Linked DNA regions of Homo sapiens: region 2 is linked to region 1. Evidence: promoter capture Hi-C in 16 types of primary human blood cells and fetal thymus (Javierre and others, 2016). All regions are on one chromosome and are shown on one strand. Each heading gives the region's core, a stretch centred on a gene start or on the middle of the fragment in contact. The rest is flanking DNA. Distances are from core to core; before and after follow the strand shown.

Evidence for each region. Contacts are between HindIII fragments. The CHiCAGO score rates a contact against its expected background, and 5 or more counts as called.
Region 2: a contact is called between a fragment that was not itself captured here and the fragment with the promoter of RAB24 in region 1, in 1 of 17 cell types (non-activated CD4 T cells). The highest score is 5.9, in non-activated CD4 T cells.

The regions. Positions count from the first base shown.
Region 1 is chr5:177,298,104-177,304,968 of GRCh38, reverse strand. It overlaps RAB24 (RAB24, member RAS oncogene family), which reads left to right and starts at 1,250. Exons shown (of 8, transcript NM_001031677.4): 1 at 1,250-1,797; 2 at 1,892-1,960; 3 at 2,139-2,217; 4 at 2,325-2,392; 5 at 2,473-2,572; 6 at 2,791-2,841; 7 at 2,982-3,044; 8 at 3,162-3,771. The coding sequence starts at 1,681. The coding sequence ends at 3,226. PRELID1 (PRELI domain containing 1) reads right to left here and starts at 1,170. Exons shown (of 5, transcript NM_013237.4): 1 at 892-1,170; 2 at 119-344. The coding sequence starts at 983. It overlaps NSD1 (nuclear receptor binding SET domain protein 1), which reads right to left. Exons shown (of 23, transcript NM_022455.5): 23 at 4,756-6,865. RefSeq lists enhancers at 40-109, 120-189, 340-399, 420-469, 580-679 and 4 more and silencers at 910-1,049, 1,160-1,239, 1,290-1,359, 4,389-4,582. The HindIII fragment of the contact is 8,255 bases long and covers 381-6,865 here.
Region 2 is chr5:179,615,175-179,622,039 of GRCh38, reverse strand. It overlaps HNRNPH1 (heterogeneous nuclear ribonucleoprotein H1), which reads left to right. Exons shown (of 14, transcript NM_001257293.2): 3 at 643-798; 4 at 1,005-1,148; 5 at 2,633-2,771; 6 at 3,717-3,895; 7 at 3,980-4,051; 8 at 4,108-4,241; 9 at 4,391-4,526; 10 at 4,930-4,989; 11 at 5,082-5,171; 12 at 5,822-5,914; 13 at 6,445-6,494. The coding sequence ends at 6,494. The region is part of intron 4 of LOC128966623 (a long non-coding RNA gene); the gene reads right to left. Among named protein-coding and RNA genes, the nearest start is that of HNRNPH1, 5.1 kb to the left of the region's middle. The HindIII fragment of the contact is 1,751 bases long and covers 2,032-3,782 here.

The DNA.
Region 1 (6,865 bases), core at 1-2,500:
CCTGCCTCCGGCCACAAAAGCTGCCTTATGGCTCTCTAGCCACATGTATCTGAGGAGCTCTCTATCTCGGGGGGAGGGGAGAGGGGGAGGTGCAGAATCACAACAGGAGGTGTCTCACCATCAGCCGGGCGTGGTTGATGTTCCAGGTGAAGGTAGTCATGGTCTGATTCTGTGGGTCCACAATAGAGTCCTCCAGGACGTACACCGAGTGAGCAACATTGGCAGGAAATAGTCGCTCGGCCCAGCGTGGCATCCTGTTGGTCTTGGTCAGGAGTCGCCGGGACAGCAGTTTCTGGTCAGGGGTCACCTCCCGGTGTACTATGTCTTCCGTCAAGACATGTTTGCTGCAGGTGTCAGGGTGAAGGTGACCCTCAGAAGCTTGCCCCTAAGAGACTGCCCGAGGGGATTCCCATTTGGAGGCTCCGGGCCTAGAGAGGCCACGCCTTCCCGTAACCTTGCAGGGTGGTATGTGCTATGGTTCAAACCAGAGTTAAGGGCCCATCCCAGGGCAAATTCCCACTCCCGCCATCTGACTGACCTGGATTCCTGCCTTCTAGCAGGAATGGACCTCATGATTTATTGCACCCCAGGAAAGCGCCACGGGCAGAGAAATAGGATTTCCAACTCCAAGATCCCTCCCAACTCCCATACTGCCGCCTCTTCTTGTCTCACCACACTGAGAAAAGAATCTTACACTAAGGTCTCAAGTAAACCACCACCCAGGCCCAACCTCCCTTCAGGACCTTGCAGGCCTGGCCTGGCCGCTTCCCCGATAAGGTCTACCTAGGATTCGATATCGAGTCCTTCCTGGTCCCAGTACTTGGGGGTTACCCATAATTCGATCTCCAGATAGCGAGATGGCGCGGTTTTGCTCTTCCAAATACCACGTACCTATAGGGATTCGGGTACCGCTGCCAGAAGGCGGCGAACACTTGGTCCCAGGAACTCCGGAGCACGCTCTGGCCCAGGAAATACTTCACCATCGTCCCGGCCGAAGCGGGCTCAGCACCCGCGCAGCATCAGGGGTGCGGAGCCTGGGAGGCACGCGAGGGCCGGGCCGGGCCGGGGCTCGGCGCACACCCGCCGCCAGGCTCGTAGCTCAGTCACCACCGCACCGCGCCCAAGCAGCTGCCGCCGCCGCCGCCGCCGCCATGAGTTGTCCGGCCGCGCGCCACTTCCGGCGCAGCCACACAGTAGCCACCGCTTCCGGCGCCCGCGCCACGTGACCTTGCGGCCCCGCCCCCTCGCCCTCTAGCCCCCTCCCGCGGGAGTCGCGGCGCTGCGGGTAGGAGCCGGGTTGCGGGAGACCCCAGGTTCGGTTGGGATTCCCAGCCAGAACGGAGCTTAAGCCGGGCAGGCGAGCGAATGACGGAGTAGCGAGCTGCACGGCGGCGTGCTGCGCTGTTGAGGACGCTGTCCCGCGCGCTCCCAGGCCGCCCCGAGGCTTGGGGTCTTCGAAGGATAATCGGCGCCCGGGGCCGAACAGCGGGGGCACACGGGGCGCTGCCGAAGTGCAAGGCCACGGCCAGAGCTCGAGCCCGACGCGCTGTCTGGAGTCGTAGGTTGGCGCCGTTTGGGGTCGGGGTCTGAGGCTTGGGCGCTGCCTGGGCCGAGCGGAGATCGGGGTTTGCCTCCCGTCCCCGCTCAGGACCCTGACGTGGCTGAAGCGGCCCCGGGAGCATGAGCGGGCAGCGCGTGGACGTCAAGGTGGTGATGCTGGGCAAGGAGTACGTGGGCAAGACTAGCCTGGTGGAGCGCTACGTGCACGACCGCTTTCTGGTGGGGCCTTATCAGAACGTGAGTGCATCCGGAGGGGCCAGGCACGGTGGGCGGGGGAGTGGGGGGCCGGTAATCTGCACCTATGGCCCCGATCTCTTCCCTCTCGTTGCAGACCATCGGGGCCGCCTTCGTGGCCAAGGTGATGTCGGTCGGAGACCGGACTGTGACATTAGGTATTTGGGTAAGTCCCCCGGCCATCTATTCTTGGGAGACTCATTCCTGAGGAGGTGTAGGTCCTGCCTATTACTGGTTGATTTGTGGCCTCACAGACCCATTTCTCATAGACCCGTTTCCTTATCTGGAAAATAGCGGGGTCTGGAGAACGTGGCCTTAAGTTTGACTCAGGCCTTACTCTTTAGGACACAGCAGGCTCTGAGCGCTATGAGGCCATGAGTAGAATCTACTATCGGGGTGCCAAGGCTGCCATCGTCTGCTATGGTAAGGGGGGGGGGGGTTTGGGCTGTCTCACAAGAAAAGATGGGTGCCAGGCTAGCCAGAGAACAGCCCTTGACCACTTGGTTGTCTCCTGCATGCCGCACACCAAGACCTCACAGACAGCAGCAGCTTTGAGCGAGCAAAGTTCTGGGTGAAGGAACTGCGCAGCCTAGAGGAGGTAGGTGAACAGACCTCACTAGAACACTAGGGGCTGGGGTTTTGTTGGCCTGTGGAGGTGACCCTTGTCTTCTGCCTCAGGGCTGCCAAATCTACTTATGTGGCACCAAGAGTGACCTGCTGGAAGAAGACCGGAGGCGTCGACGTGTGGACTTCCACGACGTCCAGGACTATGCAGACAGTAGCTGCTCCTCAGCCCTTTGGGGGGTGGGGGTGTGTGGCTGTCTGGGTGGATCAAAGAAAATAGGGACTGCCTTGGCTGCCAGGGCAAGGTGCTCTAGGAGGTCTTCCTGGCCTCCTTGAACTGTGGGGTCCAGGAGACTCCCTGAACTGCTAGCCCTCCCTTTTGTCTGTTTATCTAATTCTCAGGTATGAGGCTTTAGTCACTTCTCTTTACAGATATCAAAGCTCAGCTCTTTGAAACATCCAGCAAGACAGGCCAGAGTGTGGGTGAGTGCTGTGCTGGAGCCTCACAGCAGGAACATGCAGGGGCACCAGAGGAAGCTGAATAGGGCACAGAGGGCTGGGTCACTGGGAGATCCCAGGGCTACTGGCATTGGGCCCTCGCTGATCATCATTTTTCCTGCCAGACGAGCTCTTCCAGAAAGTGGCAGAGGATTACGTCAGTGTGGCTGCCTTCCAGGTGATGACAGGTGTGTGCTTCCCCAGCCTTTATGGAGACTTACTCTAGGCCCACAGCATCTAGCCCCTTTCCTGAGTTACCTGATCCCAACAGAATGGTGCTGAGCTGCCACCTCTCTTTTTGACAGAGGACAAGGGCGTGGATCTGGGCCAGAAGCCAAACCCCTACTTCTACAGCTGTTGTCATCACTGAGTCAGCACTCACCTGGCCTGGGGGAATTAAAGGAATTCCCCGTAAGGGCTGGACCCAGCTCCTTTCTGGGCTTGGGTAGTCAAATGTCTGAGCTACCCCAGGTCCTCATGTCAGCAGAGTGGCGCCTGCCTGTGCTGGCCCATGGAACGGAGACAGCATTGGGCTGACTGTGGGCATGAGGAGGGATAAGGCTGATTTGGACCCCAGGCTTCTGCCCTGGACAGCACTTGTGTCTGCAGATTATTTAAGTGGCTTTTGATCTGTAAATAAAATCAGTGCACTGTGCATCACACCCAGCCCCTTTCCCTGCTGTGTGGATTAGGTGTCAAGACACCTAGTTCTTCCTGGGGCCACCCGGCTGGCCTCACTGCTTATATTAAGGCTCCTCCCAACTCTCATTTTCCTTTGGAAAACAAGACTTTTTTCCCCATGGTTACCGCTGAGATACTGGGGCTGTAGTAGTATAAAAGCTCACAGTTCCTTCTGAGTGCTGAAAAGAGTGCATGAGTTGCTTCGAAATAAAAGGGTCAAGCATTCCTACCTGAGACAGGTTGGTCTGACTAGCTCTACTGCATCTGTCATGTTTGGGCCCCTATGTCAGACCTGTGACTCAGGTCCTGAGCTTCCCAGTGACATCCTACAATGTGGTTTAATGGTAGGAAAGTCCTAAGTTCTGTAAGCCAGAAAGGTCTAATGGATCCAGATTTGGTTCCAATTCAGCTGCTAATTTAGAAAAGGGACTTAAATCCTCATCTTGAGTTTCTCATCTGTAAAATAAGGTGACTACTATGCAGCCCAAGGATTGTGAAGAAAGTGAAGAGTAACTCTAGTACTAAATGTTTTTCCCAATCTTCCCAAGCACTTTTTGCTGAAAGGGCAGGAAGTTCAGGACTAGGTCACAAAGGGAAGCAAACTCCCAAGTTTTCCCCAAAGAAGATCCAGATATTTCTGAGGAATCAGGTGTTAACTGTAAACAGGGCTGACACTTGCTGCTCAACCAGAAGGAAATTTATTGCAGCCCTTTCTGGTATGGAGGGTGTGGCCCCAGGCCAGGGGCTTTCCCTTAGTTTTATCCTTTGCCTCTGCTTTCCTGCCTTTATTTAGGCCTGGGCTGAGTCCTCTGCAGTGGCCAACACCTGCCTTGGAAAAATGTACAACTTAGCCAACATGGTCAGACTCACACTCAGAGAGTGCTTTGGTTCCACTTCCTTTTTAAAAACCAATTCCTCAAACTGCCCTTCCTTCATGAGTGATGGGGGCTTCCTGTGGAGGGAGACTGAAACTGAAACCAGCCACTCCCAACAGAGGGAGAAAGAGGCTTGGGCAGCCCTGTGGCTGCTGAGAGGAAACACACTATTCCCATGACGTGCTTGGAGGAAGGGCTTAGCTTCACAGTATCCCTGCGCCCCCCGCCCCCCACCTCGTACTATCTCTGGGGCTGGCTTCTGCTCTCACCCCAAACAATCCTCCCTCCTGTTAGACTACAACTCCCCACAGCCAATAAAACAAAACACAGGGCAAGGGCCATATATGAGTAAAGTTAAACTTTACTTTACAGTAAATTTTTTTTCTATATACAAAGAATTACAGTACATGTTTATGGGGACTCCTAACACAGGGCTCCCCTCTTTTTCACTAGGAGTTTCACTTACAGCTGACAATCTATGGGGGCGGGGGGGGGGGGGCGCGGCAAAAAAGCAATGATGGACCTTGGCTGATCCCCCCGACCCCTTTCTTAACAATATAGGTAGATGTCTATCGTCAGCTTGCCTCTTTGCCAAGACCTAGGAGGCGGCTCTGCCATGAGCTGCTGTGTGCTGCCCTCCCCACCTTCAGCACACTCATCTACACACACACAGGTAGCACCCACCTCGATGAGACCGCCTTGCTCTGGCCTGCCCCAACCCTGGAAGTTGAAAACATAGAACCATTTATTTCTGCTTCTACTCTCTGTGCCCATGTCTTGTCCACGAAACTTTGCTGAACTTCCAGGACCTTACACCTGAAGCCCCACAATAACCTGATGTTTTGAAAGCCATGGGAAAGCAGCTCTAGAGAAGGAACCACATAAGCAGAAACAGCGCATGTTAAACTCGAAACACTTCTTCCGAGGTTGTGGATTTCTAGTTTAATTCTTTCCACTTCCTTAGAAAATACTACCCTTAATCTTCATAAGCAGTAGAGGGGCTTCCATGAGTGGAAGAGGTAGAGAGGGGCAGAAGGGAGCTGAGGAAGACCCAACAACCAGAGCTCTCTAACAACCTGCTCCAGGCAGCGTGGACGGAGGCTATGGACAAGGTGGCCCCAGCCCTGAGAAACTCAATGGCCACCTTCACCTGGATATAGGATCTCTTCCACCTCTGGATTGCACTGGGCCACTCCAGGGTTGGGTGCAGGCTTCACTGAGGATCTTCCTTCTCCCCACTTTTAACAAAGCCTCAAACTTTTCTACATAAAATCTCCTCCCAAACAGGAACCCGGGTTTCTTGAGCTGCCAGTCCCTCAACCCTTGGCAGTGCTTATTTATACCGTGAAATTAGCACCATCATTACATTTTATTGTGTGTGTGTACAAAACAATGATCTATTCTTATTTCAATTTACACTATAGCAGCCTCTGGCCCTGTTGCACTGGCCCTAGGAAGCTCAGCTGAGAACTAACTGGCCATAGCCAATGACAGGCTCCCACAGCAACTACCAAGCAGTGACTTGGAATGTCTACACATGGAACTGCTCAAATGAAACTCAGCAAGAAAGGGGCTGGAGGCAGCTCCTTCTCTGCCATGATCTGAGAGAGGTTAGGACACTGGGCTCCTCTAACCTGGCTGATAAACCCCAAGAGGATGACAGTATCATTTAAAAAACCTTAGTAAAATCCACCTTATAGGGACTAAGGGTAAAACCTATCCAAGTTTCATGCTGTCCTCATTACTCCCTATGGGGGAATCTGTCAGGACTAAACTTTCTGCCATTCTGTTCTCATGAGGCAACATTAGAATTACAACCTGGGAGTCCGGCTCCAGTGAGCAGACAGTGCCGAGCCTGGGAAGGGATCAACAGGGTGTTTCATGCCCTGACCATAGTGTGGGGTGAAGGATGTAAAGAATAAAATAACTATTTTCATCAATGCTAAAGATTTGGTTCAGAAGAGGGTCAACACAGTGATTTAAGTCATCTCAAACTCAGTAACAGGGTAAAGCAGACATTTAAAAATGAGGATGTTTCTGTATCAATGACAGCTATTTTGCTATTAGACTGGGTTGGCTCCAGCAAGATAAGCAAATGAGGCTTTGAATGTAAATTTCAACATTTTTCATAATCTTTTTCTGACTTAGCAGGGCTAGATGTATTGGCTTTCTAGCTACCCATGGAGAATTTCAACTTTTGCCTTGTCCCTGGAAAAGGCCTCCTGGGGAGCTGGCTCCAAGGCAAACACTCTTGAGATCTCAATTTCCAAGCACATACCCAAATACCACCCTGCGTTAAGGACCAGAAGTTTTCTAAGATGAAAGATTTCCTTTTCACTCCAATTCACATCCCTTTGGAAAAGGGGTCTTATTACAAACTTCAGGGGACGTCCCACAGGGCTGGCAAGGCCACTCCCTCCCCACCTTCCTCCAAGAGTCACATTTCCCAACAG
Region 2 (6,865 bases), core at 1,658-4,157, 2.3 Mb before region 1:
TTTGGATGAAATTAACAGCTTTTGGCAAGACGTTTGTAGTATTGACTTACTATCTGAATTTAGCGTTGGTAACGGAAAGCGACCTGTAAAACAAGAACCAAGTACGCTGGAAGCCGCCTTGCAGGGGGCAACACTGGGTTTGGCTTCAGCTGTGCAACTTGGAGCATTTTAGCTTGGTAACACTGATCCCCTTTCAGGTGAGTATTGGGCTTGTAATTTGAATTTGAATGAGAAACCGTAATGTGGCTACTGGTAAGGTAAAACGGATAAATGCCCCAGACCAAAACAGCTCGCAACGAAGTATGTTTGCCGTAAAGTCACACAGTCCAGGCTTGATAATCTTCTGAGAAATTGATAAAAGATGTGTGATGTAGACATGAGTAGCAAGGACTAAAGAGATAAATTCATTCTGAAACTGCTTTGAATATTGTATGTTGTTGATGGGTTGGAAATATATCACCTTAGGAATGAGTTTGTTTTTTTTTAATTGGAGTTTTAGGAGTTGGTAATATCGTGGTCAGTATATATAGGCTTCACAAGTTATGTAATTTGTAGTGGGGACATGGAATAGACATTTCATCTGTGTCACCCAGAGGTGGTTTTAGGTTTTAAATTCTGTATTAACGGTTGTTTTCTTTCCAGACTGCAAAATTCAAAATGGGGCTCAAGGTATTCGTTTCATCTACACCAGAGAAGGCAGACCAAGTGGCGAGGCTTTTGTTGAACTTGAATCAGAAGATGAAGTCAAATTGGCCCTGAAAAAAGACAGAGAAACTATGGGACACAGATATGTTGAAGGTTTGATTTACATTGCCCTAGTTACAGTAAATAAAGCATTAAACAATAGAGGTCTCACCCCTTCTGAATTTTAGGTATTTGACTGCATGGAAATGGTCATCTAAGGGAGTTTGTGGCAGCTCTTCCTAGCTTATCTAAAGACCCAGGAAGTCTGAACTTTGTTATCTAATTTTCCAAAAGTGACTAATTCTAAGCACCTCTTTCAGTATTCAAGTCAAACAACGTTGAAATGGATTGGGTGTTGAAGCATACTGGTCCAAATAGTCCTGACACGGCCAATGATGGCTTTGTACGGCTTAGAGGACTTCCCTTTGGATGTAGCAAGGAAGAAATTGTTCAGTTCTTCTCAGGTATGTAGTCATGTTTGTTGCTGAGCAGTGAGTTTTGGCTAGCTTATGGCAAGGTGATTTAATAGACGTTAAAGTTGAGTAGCTTAGGTATTTCAGTAGGTTGTAAATTGCCAATGAATTAATGTTTTCTTCCTAGAGACCTTCAAATAATTTAAGCCCATCTTAAAGGTGGAAATGAAGTACTTCCAAAATGTTAACTTTGCCTATATTTAGTATTATAGTTCAGAGTAGATCTTTCATTGAGGATTGCCCTCAACAGCTTAACTACTTTCCTCACATTGGTGTCCAGCTAAGTACCTCAAGTTAAAGGTAAGATCCCTTTACCAGCAGATCATCAGTGCGATGAATTAGGTTGTTGTAAATTATGGCAAGTGTCTGTGTTGCAAGAGACACGTATTTGGGTCATGTGACCAGAAGCATCTAATGGTCTAATTCTCTTTAATGCAAAAGTCGGTTTATGAAAGACTTGGTTTAACCTGTGTGGTATAAACTTACTGAAAATCAGATGTAGTGAGAGTAGTTTGAATGCTTGTAGTCTCAGTATCTGAAATAAGTGTTTTGAAATTGTTCCTGGGCCTAAAGTATTTGAATGTTTTTATGCTGAAGAGCTGATAAGATTGCATGTTTAACAATGTTAGATAAGATATCGTATATTTTAAGTATTAATATTTATGATGTGATACGCTGGAAGCAGGAAATCCTTTCATGGTTTAGTGTAGTATGTTAAAAATTGATATATGTATCGAGTCCTAATGTCAGAATTTTTAAAATCAAGTCTGTTTTGTTTTGACACTAAATTGGTGAGAATTGAATGCTGTCAACGTTAAATATGAACATAATTTCATATCTTCTAGGAAAGTGCTTTAAGTCCTTTTTGTAAGCTTGGGAATGTATCCACGGAAAGGATTTTTCATAGACGGAATTTCCAGAAGTGAATCATAACTACTGTTAGAGCATAAGCATGCATGATTGTGCTGTGTAGATCAGTTTTGTTGAAAGTTTAGATTGTTGTGTTTGTCAATTATAATTTAATGTTTCAGTTTTTATATGAAATGTTGTAAATGTATACCTTTTTAAAAACTTGAAGTTCCAATAACTTAAAGCATTGAAATATAAAATGAGGTAAAAGGTGTTTTGAATTTAGTAAAACTGTTATTTAATGCTTAAAACTTAATTGAATTGTATAATTCTCAACATTAAGTTGCATAGATATGTGTTCTTAAGTTGTTGAATTCTTAATGCATCCTGTGTTCAGCAAGTTTTTTTTAATATATACTGTACCATGGGTGTGTTAAGAATAGTTATACTTTATAATAATGGAACTTCATATTATTGCAATGCATATTTAAAGAGTACTTGTTGAAAGCATACCATTCACCTAAAGTTAAAAATTCTGGTTTATTTAAAGCTATAAGAAGAATCATTTCTGGGCTTGTGATGTTAATATTGCCCCCCTACTGGGGTTATTTGTCCTTGGGTTGAAGGGTTGGAAATCGTGCCAAATGGGATAACATTGCCGGTGGACTTCCAGGGGAGGAGTACGGGGGAGGCCTTCGTGCAGTTTGCTTCACAGGAAATAGCTGAAAAGGCTCTAAAGAAACACAAGGAAAGAATAGGGCACAGGTGGGGATGGATGGTTGGTTGGATATGTCACTTTTCTTATGGTAAACAATTAAATCCATATTCTCTCTGCTTAAAAGAAGAAATTAATGTTTTGTAGTCCTAGGTAATTGATGTTTTGCCATGATTTCCAAACTTGTGTCAGTCCCACGTTACACGCAAACTAAATTTTAGGTTTGAAATTTGTCCCTAGTTAATTGGTCTGCTTGACAATTTTGTGAGTCTTATTAACCCCAATCAATAGAGTTGAGAGACTATGGCTTTAAAAAATTAATGCAAACCTGGCTTTAGCTGTAATAACACCCACCTAGAATAAATTAATATTACCATAAGAAAATGTGATACTTTCTGATCTTGTTTTTAAAGTTGAAATGCAACAAACTTTTTCTTGCTGTATATAAATATTCTGCATAGTATTAATAAGCATAGCTTTCAAGAAATTGTCACAAAAGGTTTTATTCTCTTTGCTTGTGACTATTTTTCATTGAAGCATGCGCTTACCTATGCTGATTCTTACTAAAAGCATAGGCTGGGGTATTTATTGGCGAAAGGAAATGTGTAGTGTGGGCTGGACTGTTGGTGGAGGCTGGCTTTTTAGCCCACTTGCTATACATGCTGCCAATGGATTTAAGACTTGAAATGTTGAAAGTTGAGTGGAATTATTTCCCTCCTAAAACATTTATTTACAGTACTCCTCTCTACCCCTAAGGTTGGGCTCTGCCTCAGAGGAGTGAGTTTTTTTTTTTTTTCTATAAAGTTTACATTGTCTTACTATTTATTGAGTGAATTTCTGGTCATTGCCTATGCAAATATAAGAAATCTGGCTTTAAATATTAGTCAGTTTCATGGCTATGACTAGATTGTTTTCTTGTATAACTAAATACCTGTATAAAATGAACTAATGTTTTCTCTCCCCTCCCTACCCCTTCCTTATGAACAATGCTTTAGGTATATTGAAATCTTTAAGAGCAGTAGAGCTGAAGTTAGAACTCATTATGATCCACCACGAAAGCTTATGGCCATGCAGCGGCCAGGTCCTTATGACAGACCTGGGGCTGGTAGAGGGTATAACAGCATTGGCAGAGGAGCTGGCTTTGAGAGGATGAGGCGTGGTGCTTATGGTGGAGGTACGTGAGGATTCGTAAGGTTCGGCAAGTCGTCTGTTCCTTTGTCTAGGTGTTTTATTTGATTGATTGTACTTTGTCTTTCAGGCTATGGAGGCTATGATGATTACAATGGCTATAATGATGGCTATGGATTTGGGTCAGATAGATTTGGAAGAGGTAAGGTAAGAATTGAATTTCTCAGTTGAAGGATGCTTACACTCTTGTCCATCTAGACCTCAATTACTGTTTTTCAGGAATGTCTGATCACAGATACGGGGATGGTGGCTCTACTTTCCAGAGCACAACAGGACACTGTGTACACATGCGGGGATTACCTTACAGAGCTACTGAGAATGACATTTATAATGTAAGTGTGAGATGAACTCACAAGTCAATATTTCAGTATGGCAGTAAGTCAGCCTTATTCTATAAATGTGAGCACTATGTTAGAAATTTTAGGTTTTTTTTGTAACGTTAGAAAGTTGGTTGAATTCTTTGAAATGCCTTGTGTTGTAGTTTTTTTCACCGCTCAACCCTGTGAGAGTACACATTGAAATTGGTCCTGATGGCAGAGTAACTGGTGAAGCAGATGTCGAGTTCGCAACTCATGAAGATGCTGTGGCAGCTATGTCAAAAGACAAAGCAAATATGCGTAAGTGTGATTGAGCATTTGTGGGCTCTTAACAGGTGATTGTGTGACTAACATTTACAATAGAGAAATGGAAAAATAAGGATATATGAGAAGTTTCCTCTCCAGTAATAGATTAATTCTTGGGGGATGCGGGGGCAGTGTGTTGAAGGTTTGGGTTTTAAAAATTAGTATAACGGATTTGTGATATGCACATCTTGAAGTGTATATCCTTAATTGACAATACAGATGAATATGTAAAGGCTAGATTTTGGAGTTAAAGTAGATCACCTAAGAGAAGTAGCTAGAATTTCTTTGCCAAAGTATTTGAAGTTCACAGATCTGCTTGTTTAAAAACTTTATAAAAGTGCTTATTCTGTTTTGTTTCACCAACAAACATTTTCAAACTTTTTTTTTCTCATTTCAGAACACAGATATGTAGAACTCTTCTTGAATTCTACAGCAGGAGCAAGCGGTGGTGCTTACGGTAGCCAAATGCTAGGAGGCATGGGTTTGTGTAAATATCACTTTAGTGTCTTTTTTTTAAGCTAACCTTGTATGCCTTTTCTCTCATTTCAGAACACAGATATGTAGAACTCTTCTTGAATTCTACAGCAGGAGCAAGCGGTGGTGCTTATGGTAGCCAAATGATGGGAGGCATGGGCTTGTGTAAATATCGTTAGTTTTTTTAAAAACCAAAACGTTTATATCTGTATAAGTCAATTATAAGTTAAGTTAATCTATTTATTTAATAAGTTTAGCATAAGAAACTTAGGCAAAGCAGTTTCTTGATATTTGAGTTTTGTATCTGGCTTACTTAAATCCTTGTGAGTTATGAAGTTCCTTAGGATAGATAATTCAAATTAGGTTTAAGTAGTCTTGGGGGAGGGGACTACGGAGTGAAACTACTTAAATTTTCTAAGTATAAAGTTTAAATCAATAGCAAAACAGGATTAAGATAAATGTGGGCATAATTAGGTGTATTGACATGCCTTTGATGTATCAAACTGAGGGGGAACCCACTAAATCCAGTCAAGCAGTTTCATAAGATCTTCACAAAATGCCTCTACTTACGGAATCATGTTGATTTTAGTCCTGCTGATGTGTGTACCGTTAGCACTTTGGTTTATCAATATTTGACTGGCTCAAATGATGGATAGAAGGGTGGCCTGGTTATAGACAGTAGGCAGAAGGAGGCAGAGGGTTACAGTAATGTAAGATCAAGACTGGAAAATGATAGCTATAGAATTACAAGCCCGGTACCACCAGGTACCACATCACATAAGAAAAAAGGTTCTAATGTTTTCTTAACTTAACAGCAAACCAGTCCAGCTACGGGGGCCCAGCCAGCCAGCAGCTGAGTGGGGGTTACGGAGGCGGCTACGGTGGCCAGAGCAGCATGAGTGGATACGGTAAAGCCTGTTTGTTACTGTACTTAGAGTAAGTTATGGTAAAGCCTGTTCATTACTGTACTTAGAGTAAGTTATGGTAAAGCCTGTTACTGTACTTAGAGTAAGTCGCAGGCAGGTGCCTTTAGTTGGGAAGATGCAGGCTCCTTTCGGTGAAATTGGGTTATGAAATGTATGCTTTCAATCCAAATGTAACTGTTTTTACTAGCTAATTTTCAGAAACAATCATTGGGAGGGGGAAGTGTTCTTTGAATTAAGAACTAGTCATTGCAGCTTTGGAATACTGTCGAGCCAGAAAATATCTGCCTCCATGTATTAAAACATTAAATAAAGTTGTTCACTTTTTTGTCTTTTGGTTAGCATTAAGTCAGTTTTAGACAGAGGGAGAATTTGAAATAGTAGAATGGTGGTTGGGTTCAGGATCGTATTTATTAGTCAGTTAACCTAGGATTGGTTTTATTTATTTTTTTTCAATTGGTCTAAAGAATGGTGATTTTGGTATTATAGTCTTACCCTACAAAATCCTTTTGCAGACCAAGTTTTACAGGAAAACTCCAGTGATTTTCAATCAAACATTGCATAGGTAAATATTTTCTCAAAAAATATAAATTCCCAATAGCAAATACTGATATGTTGTAATAATGCTTTCTATAGCAGTCAATGGCTCTGACTTAACTCCATGGAGGCTGCCATTTGGGCACAGTGAGTTGCCTTTAGTCCAGCTTGGTTGTCTCACTTCCTGCCCACCATGAATAGGAAAAGCAAGAGACTTCCCCTGTGCTCCCTTTTCTCAAATGCCATTCGAGGGACACATTGTGAATGTTTATGTTAAATTTTTTTTAAAAATGCCTTGTTTAGCTTTAAAAATACGAAGTAATTTTGCAATTTTTGAAAAACACTAGTTTTCCTTTAAACTTAATTTTTCATGTTGATCCTGAAGAATCCGTTAAAATG